Linked DNA regions of Homo sapiens: region 2 is linked to region 1. The links are contacts of gene promoters, found by promoter capture Hi-C in blood cells and fetal thymus (Javierre and others, 2016). All regions are on one chromosome and are shown on one strand. The core of a region is centred on a gene start or on the middle of the fragment in contact, and the rest is flanking DNA. Distances in the headings are between cores, read along the strand shown.

Region 1 (2,665 bases), core at 121-2,620:
TAAAATACAGAAAAACTAGCCGAGCGGCGGGCGCCTGTAGTCCCAGCTACTCGGAAGGCTGAGGCAGGAGAATTGCTTGAACCCAGGAGGCGGAGGTTTCAGTGAGCCGAGATCGCGCCACTGCATTCCAGCCTGGGCGACAGAGCGAGACTCCGTCACCAAAAAAAAAGAGAGAGATAAGCAAATGTTAAAAGCAGGTTACTACAAGATTAGCAGCCTAGTGCCGGGCGCGGTGGCTCACGCCTGTAATCTCAGCACTTTGGGAGGCCGAGTCGGGCGGATCACGAGGTTAGGAGATCGAGACCATCCTGGCTAACACGGTGAAACCCCATCTCTACCAAATATACAAAAAATTAGCTGGGCGTGGTGGCGGGCGCCTGTAGTCCCAGCTACTCGGGATGCTGAGGCAGGAGAATGGCGTGAACCCGGGAGGCGGAGCTTGCAGTGAGCCAAGATCGCGCCACTGCACTCCAGCCTGGGCGACAAAGCGAGACTCTGTCTCAAAAAAAAAAAATTAGCAGCCTGGCGCCTTGGCTCATTACTGTATTCCCAACACTTTGGGAGGCCGCGGCGGTAGAATCACTTGAGCTCAGTAAAACACCTGACTCAACTAAAAAAAAAAAAAAAAAAAAAAAAAAAAGCCCGTCGCGACTGCACGCACCTGTGGTCCTAGCTACTTGGGTGGCTGAAGTAGGGGGATTGTTTGAGCCCGGGAGGTCGAGCCCTGATCATGACACTGCACTCCGGCCAGGGCGACAGAACGAGACCCTGAGAAAAAAGAAAAGAAAGAAAAAAAAAGATTAGCATAGTGACTTTCTCTTTGATGTAACCATAAATATTTAAAGACATCAGTGCCGGGCACATTGGGAACCTCAACAAAGTTGTTTCCGTTATCCATCTCCGACCAGAATTCAGGAAGAACTTTGCCTGTCTTGTTCCCGCTATAACCAATGACTCAACAAATGTTTGTGGAGTGAGTGGGTGACCCTCTCCTTTTACCAACGGTAAACAGCCCGCGGAAAGAAAAAGTGACTTAGCCAAAGTCTCTCCAGGCATTTGGGGCAGAGTCGGGACTAGCATAGTAGTATCCTGACTCTCGCAGGAGGGCTCGCTCCACTGTAGTTATTAATTCTCCTCTCCACACAACCAGGTCTAATCCGGCCAAAGTCTTCAATTCTTAAGCTAAGAAAAAAGGAAAATACATGTAAACTCTGTTTTGCGATAGACAAGAAAACAGAAGAATTAAAAATCCTCCTTCCGGGGTGCACCAGAATCCTCCCATCGCTCGGTCCTGTCACGTGACCACGCCTACTACACCAGCCACGTGAGCTTCTGAGCCGGCTTCCGCGCAGGCGCAGTGGATCTCTCTTGCGCCATTCCAAACATGGCGGCTCCACTAGGGGGTATGTTTTCTGGGCAGCCACCCGGTCCCCCTCAGGCCCCGCCGGGCCTTCCGGGCCAAGCTTCGCTTCTTCAGGCAGCTCCAGGCGCTCCTAGACCTTCCAGCAGTACTTTGGTGGACGAGTTGGAGTCATCTTTCGAGGTAATATAAGACATGGGCGTCTTTGTCCCTAGCCTTCCCTTTTTTCTGAAACGTGAACTGCGCGTACGCGTATCTCCTCCAGGGATCCGAGCAACTAATTCACAAATGGGGAAACTGAGGCTTAAAGTAAGTCACTTGCTTTAGGCTTCCCCGTGGCCCGTATTCAATTCAGGTCTGCTGGCGGGGGCGCGTAAACTCGACGTTTGTGGAAACGTGAACCCGAAGTTTGCCTAAACCCCAAACTTGGAACCCTTCCAGATTCCCAGCCGGTCCTTAGTCTCATCCCCGAGCACCGTTTCTTGCATCCCTGCATGTTTAGTAAGAGGCTCAAGCCTTTTCGGAGCTGAGAGTTTCACTGCTGTATCCTGTATCCTTTCCGCTGGGCTTCACCTTTAAACGATCCTAAAGGGACTCTTAAGAGCGGAAATTGACTTAAGTTACCAGGCGCAGCTTGGTACTAAGAGCTGAGGAAGGAGGAATGCTGGAGGTTAGGGAGGGAGGGAGGCACAGGTGACCCAATCTCTCAGTTTTGCCCAAGGAGTTTACCTTGTAGCAAGAAAGGTGAACTGTATATTGAGGGAAGATAGAGAGGTGAAAATAAGTGCTCTGGTGATTTCCAGTAGTCTTTAAAGTGGAAGATGAGCTATTCCTGTGTAGTAATAAAGTAATGTACGTTCAAATTGGAGTTAACTTTTCCACATTTTAAATCCCAGTTTTGCCGGGCGCGGTGGCTCACGCCTGTAATCCCAGCACTTTGGGAGGCCGAGGCTGGCGGATCATGAGGTCAGGAGTTCGAGACCAGCCTGACCAACATGGTGAAACCCTGACTCTACTAAAAATACAAAAATTAGCCAGGCGTGGTGGCGTGCGCCTGTAATCCCAGGTACTCGAGAGGCTGAGGCAGGAGAATCGCTTGAACCTGGGATGCGGAGGTTGCAGTGAGCGGAGACCGCGCCATTGCACTCCAGCGTGGGTGACAAGAGCTCGACTCCGTCTCAAAAAAGTAAAATAAAATATAAATAAATAAAAATCCCAACTTTGTGACTTTTGTATTGTATCTAATAGCACAGTGGTAAATGAATATAATTTGCAAGCGATTATTCAGACTGCATGGACAAAATG
Region 2 (2,665 bases), core at 73-2,572, 7.5 Mb before region 1:
TCAGCAAGGGCTGGGTTCTGCAGGAGGAGACCCCGGAATGAACAGAAGGAATGGAGAAGCAGTCAAGCTTCCAGCTCTCCACATCAACAGATATGGGGTGAAAGGGGTGTACAAAGAAACACTGAAGCTAAAACCGTGAAGAAAACCGCAGAAGCATACCACTTGCCTACGTATCTACTGCCTGCCTACCTATCTCTGGGTGATAGAATTTCATGTTACTTTAATTCGTTCTCCTTAGTCTATGACTGTACAACAAGGTGATTTTTTTCCTTTTCTGCTTTTCTGTACTTTCCATAATACAGAACAAATATATCAGTGAAACAGATACACAAAAGGTGGATTAGAGCAAGAAGCCCTGGTTCTAATCCCTCCCATTTGTGGGAAGCTGCATTCATTCCAGCGCTCTGTTCTCTTCCGTGTTTAGGACCAGCTCTCCTGGCTGCCAATCAATGTTGGACCCCAAACTCAGCGCCTGGCTGTGCTGTGCAGGAGCAGAGCAGGACACGCTGTGGGAGCCCTCTCTATCAAAAACTTGGGTTTGGAAAGGAAAGTCGATTCCCCACTCCCTTGCATAGCACAGATCAAAGGCTGGGTGGACTTTGTGGCAAAAATGGGGCCAACATTTGAGACTAGAAGCATCTTCAGCAATGAGGTTTCAACATGTAATGTGCTAAAAGTAGATCCCTGCGCCTCCCTCCCGGCATACACACACACGCAGGGCCTCAGTGAAACAGAAACACACACACACACTGGGCTGCTCTCAATCTGTCTCCACAGTGAAGCTTTCTTTCAGGAGGGAATAAAGACATGGCCATCTAATCTCTGCTACCTACTGTCAGCTTTTTACAAACCAAGTGCTCTTTGAAAGAGGCAGCTTCCCGCCAGCTTGAGGCTTAGGACACACCAGACTCCTGTGAGGGTGCCCGGGCACCCCTAGCATGACCCCACCTGCTGCCACCCCACCCCTCATCTCCCTTAGACCCCTCCTCAAGACCTGAGGGGCCCCCATCTCACGAGACTGAGACCACAGAAGTACAGACCCTGATTCCTGCCCACCTTCTGCCATCCTGTTTAAGCTCCACGTCTGTGTGTAGTCTGTGCCCTTGGCCAGCACCTCTCCCTGCCTACGGACACCCACTCACCCATCAGGCCTAACGGAAGCGTTCCCTCCTCCATGAAGCCTCCAAGTATGGCCCAAGCTATCCGTATCAACTCTTCTGTGCTTCCAGATCATTTAACATGTCCACCGGGATGGCACAACACACATCATAGTCCCTAGCATTCCTGTCCATCTCCTCCAACTCTGCTGTGCCCTGCTTAACATGACCTTTATCTCACTAGCCATCTCAATAAGTGGTTTGGGGGAGAAAAAAAGAAGTACACACAGACCTTCTCTTTCATCCCTAAGACTTAACACAGCATTATGTGATATAATAGACACCAGTCATAAATTAATCCATTTTGGGATAATCGTTCGCCAGTGAAATTAGAATGTATCAAGGTGTCTATCCAAAGAAGATACTACGAATGACAAGTAAGCACATGAAAAAGCGCTCAGTGTCATTAGTCTTGGGAAATGCAAGTCAAAACTACAACAGAATACCACTCCATACTCACTAGAATCAATAAAAAGAAAAGACTGACATCACCAAGTGCTGGCAAGGGTAGAGGGGTGGGGACACTGGAATGTTCACACTGCTGGTGGAAATGCAAAATGGTACAGTTGGAAAAGAGTTGGGCAGGTTATTTATAAACCTAAACAGACACTACTCACACCAAACACCAGCAACCCCACTCCTAGGTATCTGCCCTGGAGAAATGGAAGCATGTGTCCACCAAAAGACACAGGAGCAATGTTCACAGAAGCTTTCTTTGCAATGGCCAAAAACTGGAAATACCCAAATATCCATCAACAGGTGAACAGAGAAACAGGCAACACACCGCACTGCTTAGTGATAGAAAGGAACAAAGTGCAAATGCACTCAACACCAGCTATCAATCGCCAACATGTTATGCAAAGTGAAAAAGCCAGACAGAAAAGACTACACATTGCCTCTCACTTCATATGAAAGAAGATTTTAGAAAAGGCAACCCCAATGACAGAAAGCAGATAAGCAGCTGCTGGGGGTGAGGGTGGAAGGGGTGGCGGGGGCGGGGGGCACCCTCCGGAGTGACAGGAATGTTCTGTCATGACAGGGGTGGTGCTTATGGGACTATATAGGTCATCTGTCAAGATCCAAGCCACACACTGAATACAGACAAATTCTACTGTATCTAAAGTACACCTCAATAAAACTAAGATGCTGGCTATTTATTAAATGTCTGCCCAATCCAACCCTCTCCCACTCCAATTAGTCCTTCATATTCTGACACTGACACATCCCTACCCAAAGCACCTGGCAAGAAAATGATCCACTTAACAGGCAGCCCCTCCAAGACCCTGTTCGGTGTACACTCACAGCTGACTGGGGATGGGGGAGGTCTCACGCTCACATACAGGGGCACCTGCCCATCCCGCCAGACAGATGGCCTCGTGGGCTCTCCCAGCCTGGACGACCTCCTCCCCAGGCCGTGCTGCCGTAGAAAGGGTGGGGCTCCCATGGGCCTTCCGCTGGGGAGGGCATCCAGAGATGGAAGATGCCTGGGCAGGGGCATGAGAGGAAGT

What was found. The method cuts DNA at HindIII sites, captures the fragments that hold promoters and counts their contacts. A CHiCAGO score of 5 or more calls a contact.
Region 2: a contact is called between a fragment that was not itself captured here and the fragment with the promoter of MED28 in region 1, in 1 of 17 cell types (monocytes). The highest score is 6.1, in monocytes.

The regions. Positions count from the first base shown.
Region 1 is chr4:17,613,271-17,615,935 of GRCh38, forward strand. MED28 (mediator complex subunit 28) reads left to right here and starts at 1,371. Exons shown (of 4, transcript NM_025205.5): 1 at 1,371-1,543. The coding sequence starts at 1,385. MED28-DT (MED28 divergent transcript) reads right to left here and starts at 1,310. Exons shown (of 3, transcript NR_186331.1): 1 at 872-1,310; 2 at 662-768. RefSeq lists enhancers at 716-1,915, 1,021-1,310, 1,411-1,520. The HindIII fragment of the contact is 7,436 bases long and covers 1-1,461 here.
Region 2 is chr4:10,103,970-10,106,634 of GRCh38, forward strand. It overlaps WDR1 (WD repeat domain 1), which reads right to left. Exons shown (of 15, transcript NM_017491.5): 3 at 1-17. Among named protein-coding and RNA genes, the nearest start is that of WDR1, 11 kb to the right of the region's middle. The HindIII fragment of the contact is 1,084 bases long and covers 781-1,864 here.